2 separate regions of the Homo sapiens genome follow, and region 1 is linked to region 2. The links are contacts of gene promoters, found by promoter capture Hi-C in blood cells and fetal thymus (Javierre and others, 2016). All regions are on one chromosome and are shown on one strand. The core of a region is centred on a gene start or on the middle of the fragment in contact, and the rest is flanking DNA. Distances in the headings are between cores, read along the strand shown.

Region 1 (6,431 bases), core at 3,641-6,140, 400 kb after region 2:
CCTCCATGTGTTCACCAACCCAGAAGCTCTCTGAACCCTGTCCTTTTGGGTTTCTATGGAGGCTTCCTTACACAGGCATGATGGATTAAAGAAACTATGGGCCATTTGTGGTTAACTCAATCTCCCGTCTCTCTCCTCTCCTGGAACTCAAGGGGTAGGGCTGAATATTCCAACCCTCAAATCACATGGTTGTTTCCCCAGACAAGCAGCCCCCCATCCTTGGAGGCTTTCTAAAGTCACCTCATTAACATAAACTCGGGTGTGGCTAAAAGGGGTCGGTTATGGTTAAGAAAAGATGCTCTTTTCACCTTTACTGCTCTCATCGCTCAGGAAATTCCAAGGGTTTTAAGAGCCCTGTGCCAGAAATGGGGATAAGAACTCTCTCTCTCTCTCTCTCTATATATATATATATGTATATATACACACACACACATACACACACATATATATACACACGTATATGTAATTATATATCTATATATAATTATAAATCACAATATCACAACATATTATGTTCTTGGGAATACAATTTGTACAAAGGGGCCTTGTAAATTACTGCTTTGTTTGGTGAAAATGATCCTTTAATCATTACAGTCTATGTGGTCATAATTGTGAGAGAACAGAATAAGCTACCCCCAGATATGCCTCTTTGGCATAGGGATTATTGAGGCGAAGGCAATTAAGAAGCAGCAGATGCAGGAAGGTTCTCTGTCCTCTCTCTATTTGCCTAAAAGCAAGATCTAAATTTACAAAGGTCTTTCTATCAAGGAGAATAAAGGTTAACCACTGAGAACTTTAGACCCTTATAGGCCTGGAGATGGTACCAGAGGAAGCTGCGTAACAAAACTTACTGACTAGTTTCTTTCTATCCTTCATTTCCTATTTATTTGTCTACCCACAATTTGGTGGCCCTCAAGATGCAAAGTCTTTTTTCTTCATCTTGTCCCTTCTCTAAAATTGTATAGTTCTTTGTTGAAGGTGGCTATATAAGCAGGGAGTTCCAAGCCACTCCTTTGAGAATTATTTATTCCCTGGTGTCTCCTACATACACTTAAGAGGTACATATTAATCCACTCCTGTTTGTTTTTCTCTTATGAATCTGTCTTGGGTTACAAGGATCCTAGCTGAGAACTTAGAAGGGCAGAGGGAAAATTATTTTTTCCTCTCTTATAATATCCATCTAAGGAATCACTTACCCAGGTCAAGATGGAGAAAAGGAGATTTCCTTGTACTTCCTCCTCCCAGTCAATAATCGCACTACCCGAGAAGAAACCTCGATTCTGACTTCTACAACCAATTCATTTGCATATTATTGAGTTTCATATAAATGGAGCCATTTGTTTGATTTCTTTCACTCAATAATAATGTCTGTGAAATTATTCCATGTTGTTTGGGTATCAGTAGTTTTCAAAATTGTTATTGCTATGTAATATTTAACTATATAAAAAAACTATAATTTGTTTGTTTATTCTTCTGTTGATTGATGTATTTGAGTTGTTACCAGCCCTTGGCTATGTATGGGAGGAAAAGTAATTTTTTTCTCAACCCTCATAAGTTCTTAGCTGGAACAGACTCCTGTAACCCAAGACACATTAACGAGAGAAAACCAAGCAGAAGCGTATTAACATGTCTATTTCATATGGACATGGGAGAGATCCAGGGATTAAATAATTCTCAAAGAGGTAGCTTTGAATTCCAGCTTCAATACATCTCCAACAATGAACAGTACATTTTTAGAGAAGTAGCAAGACAATGGAAAAGGGTTTTGAGTCTCCAGCAGGAGCAACTTGTGGGAAAGTAAGTCAATGTCATCTTTGGTGATCAAACTTTATCCTTCTTGTTAGTGAGGAGACAAGGGACAGCTTTACCTTTGTCAATTTATGTCTTGCTTTTAGGCAAATAGAGGGAGGGTGGAGAACTTTTCTTGTACCCACTTCTTCTCAATTACATTTGGCTCAAAATAATCCTTATGCCAAAGTGGCATATTTTGGGATGGTGTATACTGCTACCCTCCAATATAGAGGTAAAAATGTATTGAACTGACTATTTCACTGTATGCATTTATTGTATGTAAGCTACACCTCAACATACAATTTTCAAATAATAGTTTGCAAATATTTAGTATGCTATGTGGTTGTTATTTTGATAGTACATAATCCAAAATCCCTCCACACCTGAATTTCATAAGGTTTCATCATATGTGCAGTAACGTTGTTTTTCTACATTCCTGACCAGAAAATCATTTGACTCCTGGGGACACAGATTTGCTGCCACAGAGGCTGATGGACAACCAGGCGGAGAGAGAAAGTGAGGCTGGTGTTGGTTTGCAAAGGTAATCCAAAGGGTGTAGTCCCCAGGGAGAGGGCTGATTCTGTTGAAATGCTGCAGGCATCCTCACGATAAGGAATACATGTGCTCTGATAGGATTAGCTGTTAAGTGGGCCTTATCTTACCGCTGGTCTCCATTATGCATATGAAAATCTGTTCCCCTAGGGAAAAAAATACTTCATGGAGCTAAAGTAAATATTTTGGAGAGCAAGTCAAGATTAAGTCAGGCGCATGGCTTTGGGCAATAGGACTCCAAAGACAAAAATTGCTCCACTCTGGGGCCTCATCTCTGCAACTGTCTTGAAGACAGGAACTCCATTTCTTCAGCTCATATATCACCAAGGAAGGAAGCCATTTGGTGTTAACAAATTAATGAATTTAAGCCCAGTTGTCTGTAAATCAGCAGACGTAGCACCACCGGCCCCCTGCACAATGTGTGCAAGTAACAAATATTTGCTGAGTGAATTAGACGAACTCTATGTGTAATATGTCATGGAACTGGACTGAAATGTTATCCAATGCCAGTAGACATCACCAGCTGATACAGGATTCACTGGAGCAGAGGTGTTCACATGTGAGACGCTTGGTTTAATTAAGAAACACATGAAGTCAAGCTTCTGTTAGTTATCAACCATGCTAAAACCAAAAACTTTACAGTTCATACACAGTGGCGTTGTTGATCTTTGCAGCTACATATCTATTTGCTGTTTCTTTTTGTCTAGCATACCTTGAGGAAACACAGAGATCAGGGTGGGCTAACCTATGGCATCTTTTATGTCTGGGGTTCTTTGTCAGGGCCACCCCGCTTGCCTTCATCCCACCCCTTCCCCATTGCAAGCCCTGGTGACCTTCTGCTCTGTTAACTGATTTACACCTGTGGATTAATAGATAATTGTGCCTAAATTTATTAATTCATTAACACTTAAAACATATGCTCGATGGTATATTTAGTTTCTAATCTTTCCCACTGAGGAATTGTGTGCGTGTGTGTGTGGAAAGAGAGATTTAAAGATAAATACATTTATGGACATACATATACTTCAATGAGGAGGCCCTGACATCAACTGACAGGTGAGAGGAAAGGCAGAAAGCACCAAGTTTAGGACTCAGAGCCCACCCAATGCTCCATCTTTACCTTGCATGTTCCTTTGGGAGTGTCCTCTTTTCTCTCTGGGCTTGAGGCCCCCCACTGAATCATAAAGGAGGTGGCCCAGATCCTCTCCAGGCCTCCCTCCAGCTCTGATGTTCTTCTTTGGGCCAGGGCATCTGTTATCACCAGGCCTCCTCGGCTCACCCTGAAGGAAATGCACAAATGGCACCTTGCATGAGAAAATGCCCCAAGCAGCAGGCTTTGCTCTCACCCTGATGCAGCTCTGCCTTGAAGGTCAAAGCCAACTGGCCTGGCAAAGATCCCTTCGTACTTCATCCTGTAAAATGTTGGAGGAAGAGGGGCCTAGGTCTCTTTGTCCCAAACTTCTTCCATGAAGGACTAATCCCATCTGCTTGAAGGGTCAAGTAAAGCTGACCAAGAGCAAGGAGAGCATTCAGGACATGAATAATAATTTATCTCAACTCTCAATGTGCAACTCCTGATAGAAGCAAAGACACACCCCAGAGTAACCAGATTCGAGGTCATTAGAGTGGAGGATGTATGATGCAATATGGCCCCCTCCACCCTCCTACTCACTTCTACACATCTGGGACGCTCATCCCCTGCCCACCACCTTGTCTTCTCTTTCTCCTACTTTTCCCAGAACTCTCCCGCCATTGTTCCCAAGTTCTTTATCTTGAGTGGGGTTTTAACATTTCCCCACTGCCCCTCCTCTGCAGCAGTGCTGTGCTTTCTCTGAACAAGGCTGAAAACATACCTCAGGACTTAATTTTCCTTCCCCATTCCTTGACCAAGGCTGGGGTGATTCACATTTGTCCTTCCACATGCCCCTCTTATGTGTTTCTTTTTTCCATGGAACCAGTAGTTTTCAGCGAAGGCTGAACTACTCTACAATGCTCTAGGACTTTTCAGGGGATTTTGTAGGGAGGTACAGGGAGGATTCGAAGCTGAGAGTGGCAAGAATATCCAAGAGCCACATGGGTTTTCCCATCTGGGAAGCTGAAGCAAAATCTTTATTTCATTTCTCCTCAGGGATGAGGATGACGCTCCTCTGTGTGAAGACGTGGAGCTACAAGACGGAGATCTGTCCCCCGAAGAAAAAATATTTTTGAGAGAATTTCCCAGATTGAAAGAAGATCTGAAAGGGAACATTGACAAGCTCCGTGCCCTCGCAGACGATATTGACAAAACCCACAAGAAATTCACCAAGGCTAACATGGTGGCCACCTCTACTGCTGTCATCTCTGGAGTGATGAGCCTCCTGGGTTTAGCCCTTGCCCCAGCAACAGGAGGAGGAAGCCTGCTGCTCTCCACCGCTGGTCAAGGTTTGGCAACAGCAGCTGGGGTCACCAGCATCGTGAGTGGTACGTTGGAACGCTCCAAAAATAAAGAAGCCCAAGCACGGGCGGAAGACATACTGCCCACCTACGACCAAGAGGACAGGGAGGATGAGGAAGAGAAGGCAGACTATGTCACAGCTGCTGGAAAGATTATCTATAATCTTAGAAACACCTTGAAGTATGCCAAGAAAAACGTCCGTGCATTTTGGAAACTCAGAGCCAACCCACGCTTGGCCAATGCTACCAAGCGTCTTCTGACCACTGGCCAAGTCTCCTCCCGGAGCCGCGTGCAGGTGCAAAAGGCCTTTGCGGGAACAACACTGGCGATGACCAAAAATGCTCGCGTGCTGGGAGGTGTGATGTCCGCCTTCTCCCTTGGCTATGACTTGGCCACTCTCTCAAAGGAATGGAAGCACCTGAAGGAAGGAGCAAGGACAAAGTTTGCGGAAGAGTTGAGAGCCAAGGCCTTGGAGCTGGAGAGGAAACTCACAGAACTCACCCAGCTCTACAAGAGCTTGCAGCAGAAAGTGAGGTCAAGGGCCAGAGGGGTGGGGAAGGATTTAACTGGGACCTGCGAAACCGAGGCTTACTGGAAGGAGTTAAGGGAGCATGTGTGGATGTGGCTGTGGCTGTGTGTGTGTCTGTGTGTCTGTGTGTATGTACAGTTTACATGAATGTTCCTCAGGACATGGCATACAATGGCCTTGGAGGTCCAAATAATATCAAGTACATCTTGGAGATGAGGGTGCCTGTCCTGGACAGACCTCGGCATGCCTTCTGTTTCTCCTTCAATGCTCCTTAAGGCCTATGTGCTGGGAAAAGGGTCTTCCCTGTTTGTTTGTTTGTTTGTTTGTTTGTTTGTTTTGAGACAGGGTCTCTGTTGCCCAGGCTGGAGTGCAGTGGCGTAATCTCGGCTCACTGCAACCTCTGCCTCCTGAGTGCAAGCAAGTCTCCTGCCTCAGCCTCCCAAGTAGCTGGGATTACAGGCACGCACCACCACGCCCAGCTAATTTTGGTATTTTTTTGTAGAGACAGGGTTTCACCATTTTGGCCAGGCTGGTCTCGAATTCCTGACCTCAAGTGATCCACCCACCTTGGCCTCCCAAAATGCTGGGATTACAAGCGTGAGCTACCCTGCCCAGCCGGGTCTTCCCAGTTTTAACAAAGAGGTCACAGAGCCACAGGCGGAGTTAGGAACTAAATTGTCTCCTCCTCCCAATTCATATGTTGAAGTCCTAAACCAAAATGTGGCTGTATTTAGAGATGGACCCTTTGGGAGGTAATTAGGGTTGACTGAGGCCATAGGGTGAGGTCCTAACCCGATGGAATTGACTTCTTTATAAGAGGAGGAGGAAATACAAGAGGGCCTCCCCACCCCTGCTGCACACCTACACTGAAGGAAGGCTATTTGCAGATGCAGCAAGAAGGCAGCCATCTGCAAGGCAGAAGAAGAGAGCCCTCACCAGGAACTGAATAAGTCAGTCAGTCTGGGACTTCCAGCCTCTAGAACTGTGAAACAATAAATTTCTGTGGTGTAAGCAACTCAATCTATAGTAGTTTGTTACTATTTTGTTATAGCAACCAAAGATGACTAAGCCAGACAGGTTATGTCACTCGCCAAGTGTCTTAGTCTGTTTGTGCTGCTATAACAA
Region 2 (6,744 bases), core at 3,214-5,713:
GCTGAGGCAGGAGAATCGCTTGAATCCGGGAGGCGGAGGTTGCAGTGAGCCGAGGTCATGCCACTGCACTCCAGCCTGGGCGACAAGAGCAAAACTCCATCTCAAAAAAAAAAAAAAAAAAGAAAAAAGTCATTAGCTGAAGTATAAGCTCATGTTAGCAGTGCTTTATCCTGACAGCAATGGCGGATGGACTTCGAAGTGGGGAAGGGGCCCTGAAGATAAAAATCCATTAGGAAGCTATTGTAATAGCCCAATGAGAGATGGCCCATCTATTGGGGCACATTTTTCTTTTACATTTGTACCATAGTAATTATGGACTTAGACTTGTTTTACATTGCCCACAAAACACACATACACACAGAAGATAATAAGTTGCTCAAAAGCAGGAAAACAAGTATCATTGCTTCACCATAGGGGACATTTATTATTTGTCTTCCCAGAATAGATCCCCTTTCTTTTATAGAAGGACTAATGTCCTATTGCAACTTTGTGGTATCCCAGGAACTATCACAATACTGAATGATCACATGACCCCATCCCAGCCAATTGGAGTTCTTCTCTTGGATTTTGTGCGCGCGCGCGCGCGCGTGTGTGTGTGTGTATGTGTGTTGCTGATGTGGGAACATGCTCTTTCCTCTCTGGTCAGGAGACTATAAAGATGTAAGCCTGGGCTACCTGTGGCCATGATTCCAGGCCCCTAGGGACTGCCAGCCTGAGAGAACAGAGTTAAGAGGGAAGGATTTGAATCCCCGGACCCAGCTGTCCAGAGGGCCTGCTTCTCTCTGGCTCTGAGTAGTTTTTGTTTTGTTTTGTTTTTTACATGAGTTACATATTTTCTACTGGTCTCTTTATTTTTTTAATTTTGCAATTTAGGGCATACACACAGACTGAGAATCTGTGGTATGTCCCTCTGCCTGTCTCTTAAGGTAGTTTTAATTAGGTCCTGTCACTTCTAGCAAAAGGCCCTGGCCTAATGTATGTACCCAGGATGGCATCCTCCCATCAGACCGAAGACAAAGACGCTGCTCAAAACACATCTGGAAAGAGAAGAGCACAGAAAAGTGGCCTGAAGAAAGAGATGTCCAAACCAAGCACAATTTGACAGGCCCCACCTGTTGCTGCCAGGCACCAGGCAGTTTTCCTTAGATCAGGTGGACCAGAGAACTGCCCCACACTTAGGGAGTGCCCCCTCTTCACATATGCTAGATGCTATCCTCACTTGCCATGGGAAAAGGCATTCTTATTCACAAACCCCACCATGACTAGGCCTGCCCAGAGGGTCCTCTTTTCTGTCTTTCCAAGTTTCAAAAATGCAAGAGAACTATGAAAGATAGTCAGCAAAGAATACTTTTCCAGCAAGGTACAGAGGAAGCACTTGAATACATTCAAGGAACTATGATCTCCTGGCTCCCACCACCAACCCACTTCTGGCTGAGCTAGCTCCGGTGTGCACCTCAACAGAGAAGCCTCCCTGATTACTGTTTTAAAGAACAAGCTGTTCCTACCCACATCCCCTGCTGGTACTCTCGTAGCCAACCTGGCATTATTTTCTCCACCTCTGATTATCACTGAATGTAGTATTCATATCTTAATTTTGTGTCCCCCAACCCAACCGGAATGTAAGCTCCTGGGGGCCAAGGACTCTCAATTCTGTTCACTGTTCTATTCCCAACACTTAAGACAGTACCTGCCACATGCTGTGTTTTCAATAAATATCTGTTTAATAAATGGAAGTGCAATGATCCAAGACTGGGAGCAAGTTAATAGCATTTTGTGATTGAGTGAGTAGGCTGAGGAGAGATCTGACTTCAGGTCTCCAGGAGCTTAAAATGAGCAAGAACTTGATATGCTCCATCTTCAGGTGGACTAAAAGAAGAAATGGGACCAATAGGACTCATAAGGCTTTTAGGTCCAAGCTAGTGGTAGAGTGTGGGGACAGCTACTGTTTTTGCCTACCTAACATGCACTCACCCTTCTGACAGCAACCCTTGATTTTCTTTGTGTCTACCCCAACCTAATTTTGGAGGTAAGCAGATGACCTAATTTAACCAATCAGCAGCAGCAGCAGACTCCACACCTTTACTCATAGTGATTGCTTTTTGTCTGGACACATGATCTAATTCAGGCAATAAGAATCAATCCCATGACTTTTGCCAAAGCAAAAGGGAAAAAGAAACTCCTTCCAGGGCCAGGCATGGTGGCTCACATCTGTAATCCCAGCACTCTGGGAGGCCAAGGCAGGAGGATTGCTTGAGTCCAGGAGCTTGAGACCAGCCTGGGCAACATGGTAAAAAAAAAACAACAAAAAAAACCCATCTCTACAAAAAATACAAAAAGTACCTGGGCATGGTGGCATGCACCTGTGGTCCCAGCTACTTGGGGGGCTGAGGTGGGAGGATTGCTTGAACTCAGGGGGTCGAAGCTGCAGTGAGCTGTGATCGTGCCACTGCACTCCAGCCTGGGTGACAGAGAAAGACCCTGTCTCAAAACAAACAAACAAAACCTCCCTCCACAGGGACACTGCTAGCAGGAAAGATGATGAAGCTTGGAGCTGCTGGAGTCATCACCTGAATCTGAGAATAAAGCTAACAGAGGAGAGCACCACAGACACGTCAAAGGACCAGCTTGAGTTACCTCCCTGGAAGTGACCATGTCTGCAGGTACTGGAAATTTCAATCATGTGAGCCAATAAATTCCCCTCTTCTGGGGAAACACATGGAAATGGGTTTCTGTCACAACTGAAATCATCCTGACCAATGGATTTAGGGCTCTGAAGAACAAAAAGGAAATACATCATTAGGGCTCTTAAATGCCTCAAAGGGAAGCCTAACGTCAGGCAGGGTGTCCCAGAAATGCAATCTAACACCTTTTGGTGAAACTCATTGCCTGTCTTTTTGGTGAGTAGGATGGGAGCTGCGGAGAAAAAGGCCATGCTACTTTTATTAAGTATTTGCAGTTACATTTTGCAAATGATTTCAGCAACTTTATCTCAGGTGTTTTAACATCTCAGCATCTCACAGTTGTAAGAAACAGAATCAATCTTCTACTCAGTGCAGAGGGGGAGAGAGCATGATATAGCAAAAAGAGCACTGAACCAGAGTCTAACAATCTGGCTTTTCATCTTTATCTGATCACTGATTAGAGTGTGGTCTCAGACAAATCACCTTGCTTTTATTGGTCTCATGACTACCTCGTCTTCAAGCACTCACCCAACTCTGCAATGGAAAATACACTAGGACAGAGGTTCTTAATTTTTTATGGGGCCTGGGCCCTAGGAAAACACACACTGCACACATGATTTTACGTTGCATGGGGTTCACAACTCTAGAAGCCAATCTACATCTCTAACTTCTCTGCTTTACAGTAACACCAGCTTCTGCTTGAGCGCTCCTCCAGTGGGAGGGAGCTCACTACTCACAAGGAAGCCCATTGTACTACTGAACTGTACTAGAAAAATAAGTTATTCTTCATATATATATATATTTTTTGAGATGGAGTCTCACTCTGTCCCCCAGGCTGGAGTGCAGTGGCGCAATCTCGGCTCACTGCAATCTCCGCCTCCCGGGTTCAAGCGATTCTCCTGCCTCAGCCTCCTAAGTAGCTGGGATTACAGGCACGCGCCACCACGCCTGGCTAATTTTTTGTATTTTTAGTAGAGACGGGGTTTCACCACATTGGTCAGGCTGGTCTCGAACTCCTGACCTCAGGTGATCCACCCACCTCAGCCTCCCAAAGTGCTGGGATTACAGGCGTGAGCCACCGCCCCTGGCGTTCTTCTTCATATCAAACCAAGTTCTATACACTGTAATTTCTACTCATTGGTCGAAGTTCTCAATGGCAAATCAGAAAAATTGTGTTCTCGCCTGTATATGACATCTCTTCCTCTCTCTCTCTGAAGACTGTTTCTAACTAAAAAATGTAGATGATTCGCCATGCAAATTATTTTACTGTACATTGTTACAAAGATAAGTTCTTCACCTCACCCCTAATATGCCAAATGTTCAAATGTAGATGCTGAAGTCCAAATAAGCACACTGCTATTAATCTGCATAGATCTAGGTGTTGCAAAGAGGAGAACTGCTGTATAACAATATCTTGAAAGAAACAGCATAGTATTTTGGGGAAAGCACTGCATTCAGAATCAGAAGACTTGGAGTAATACTCGGTCTCACATTCCAACTACCTGTGTATCCTTGGGCACGTCACTTAACTTCTCTCAGCCTGGTTCTCTTCTGCAAAATGCGACAGGAATACAGTGAGGATTAAGTGAAATAATGTTTGTAAGCTTCTAGGGCAAGGCTGGGACATAGCAAATTCTCAATAAATAAGTGCCAGCTCCCGCGCTCAGCAGGCTCCGAGTTTTATTCGATGCGCTCGGCGCTCTTGGTCGAGCGGGATTCCCCCTCCGGAGCCCGAGTCTGCGCTCTGGGCTCGACTGAGGCTCCCTGGCCGCTCGCGCTTTTCTCTCCTTCTCCAAGATGGCGGCGATCGGCGGCGTTGAGGCGGGATCCGGGCGAGCCGAGTGAAGGTAGCGGCGAGCGGAGACCCCAGGAGACCGGGCTGGGCCCCCACCCTGAGGCGGCAGCAGCCCCGCCCCGTCGCCACCCGCCGCCCTGGGCCCGCGACATCACCTCTGGGGTGCCCCAGGCCCTTCGCGGCCTAGCCCAGGGGCCGAGCCGGGGACTGGAGTAGCGGCCGCAGCCGCCCCCAGGAAGGGGCTGGAGCGGGCAGAAGGAGGAGGGCGGGCGGGAGCTGTTCAAACGGGGAAGGCGGGAAAGCTGCGGGGCCGGGAGGGGGCGTGCGGCCGCCCCGGGGGCCTGCGGACCCGGGCCGCCCCTCCCCCTGCCCGGGCCGTCTCCGCCCTCGGGGGCGCCGTGAGGCCGCCGGAGACGCGGGAACCCGGGTTCAGGTCGAGCTGTGCGGCTCGGAACCCGCGATGCGGGGGTCCCTCGGGCTGTCAGGGGGAAAGGGCTCGTGGCCGCGGCCACGGGAGGGCTGGGGCTGCGGCTGGCAGGAGAAAGTACGAGGAGCTTTCTTCTTTTCCTCTTCACAGAGCTTTGTTGAGCTAGCTGTTGCCGCAAAACTGCCGGGAGAATCCCACTGGTTTGCCTTGGGGACCACAAAAATGGTGGTCCTGGGGGCTGTTTGTGTAAATCACCTGGTATTTTGTGTGTTTCTTGCGTGCAACCCGGCTTGGCCGTGCCTTCGTGGTGGGCGCCTTCTCCATGCAGGCCCATTTTCCCTCCACCAACTACTACTTGTAGATTCACTTTATAGCGTGCAAAAGCGGAGAAACATCTCTGTCCCCTCTTTTGGAGGGCTAAGCTGGTGGCTGATTATATTTCCTCCTAATAGAACAAAGTAAAAAACTGAATCCCAAATAAAGCCTGTTGATTGGACAAGGCTTCTCAAAATTCGATTGCTGGTCTTATGGAATGTGTGTTGTCAGCCAATCTGTGCGGTGGTCGTGGTTCCGCTTAATTGCACTGCAATGAGAGGATTCAATCCCCATCCCCGACTGTCGGGATCTCTGCAGCTTCCAGAGCTGGCAGGGGCTGGGAGTGCTGCCTAGGTAGGTCCCTGGAGAAGGGAGTGGCAAGAGGATTCGGAGTCACCGTGTTCGGAGATTGGAAGAAACCTGGACGAAGTTGAGAAGGCATCACTTGTCTGTATCGTAGAAGTAACAAGAAAATTTCAGAAATTGGCAACCGGCGGATGTGCATCTTCCTTTACCTGCACTGACTGGCATTTTGAGTTCTTGAAAGGAGTGGTTGGAAGAAGAGAATGCAGAATCTTGGACATGGCTCTCATCCTGGAACAGACCTGGAGTTCAGAATTTCTCTTACTGTCCGTGTGACGGGGCTTACTTTGTTTCCTTTTTTTCGATACTCATTTACATTATGGGGTGAAGAAGGTTGTTGATTGCAGGAGCTCAAGTTACCTCAAAAAAAGTCTGAAACCTGTTTTTTAACTGTAATTTGAAGTTTCAAAATGACAAAGTGCTATATCTGAGGACTTTTTCCTCCTGATTACTTTGGTCATCCCAAAGGCCTATGCCTGAACATAACTTGTATGCTTATCTACCAGGGAAAGAGCAACTCTGCCCCCTCCTTTTTCATATCCTGAAGAAAAGTCCCCGAAGAGCTATTTAACAATTTGTGCATTTCATAAGTATACATTTTTATGGTACCAGTTTTTTACTTGTATCAACAGTATGAAATAGTGAACTTTTACTTATGTTGTCATATCTTAGCACACTGAGACAAACAAAATTATTCTTGCCTCTTGGAGTTGACAACATTGAATTTTATAAACTCCCAAATTATTGAATTGAGACTGGGTTTTAACACCTGTTTCACATTTGCCAACATTTAATGTAATTATGACCTCCCTTTTCTAATGTGAAAATCAAACCTAATATTCATTTTCATTAATCCTCACAATCTACTCTCTACCCCTGAACTCTGAATTTTCACAGATTGTATTCAAGACCTGGAAGGAATATCAGGGGTTCATCTGATCTTATATAAATGTTGCCTGAACTCTGCCTTTCTTTCACACTGTTGCTTGAGATTTATCTGGTATCTTTCCAAAACTAAACCCTGAGCTGCAATAATATCCTGATTTTAAAGAACGTAGAAATTCAGGGCCCATCGGTCTGCCCAAGCTGTGGCTGATACAGTCCGTTGTGTTTAATTTTAGTTTTTCAAGCTCTTGGCTGCCCCAGTTCTTCAGTGAATTGGA

Evidence for each region. The method cuts DNA at HindIII sites, captures the fragments that hold promoters and counts their contacts. A CHiCAGO score of 5 or more calls a contact.
Region 1: a contact is called between a fragment that was not itself captured here and the fragment with the promoter of HMGXB4 in region 2, in 1 of 17 cell types (naive CD4 T cells). The highest score is 5.6, in naive CD4 T cells.

The regions. Positions count from the first base shown.
Region 1 is chr22:35,654,144-35,660,574 of GRCh38, forward strand. It overlaps APOL6 (apolipoprotein L6), which reads left to right. Exons shown (of 3, transcript NM_030641.4): 2 at 2,236-2,332; 3 at 4,472-6,431. The coding sequence starts at 2,283. The coding sequence ends at 5,453. Among named protein-coding and RNA genes, the nearest start is that of APOL6, 8.9 kb to the left of the region's middle. The HindIII fragment of the contact is 3,900 bases long and covers 2,941-6,431 here.
Region 2 is chr22:35,253,030-35,259,773 of GRCh38, forward strand. HMGXB4 (HMG-box containing 4) reads left to right here and starts at 4,464. Exons shown (of 11, transcript NM_001003681.3): 1 at 4,464-4,528. LOC105373017 (a long non-coding RNA gene) reads right to left here. Exons shown (of 4, transcript XR_938210.3): 1 at 5,159-6,744; 2 at 4,184-4,232. RefSeq lists an enhancer at 3,758-4,258 and a silencer at 4,524-5,023. The HindIII fragment of the contact is 10,131 bases long and covers 4,284-6,744 here.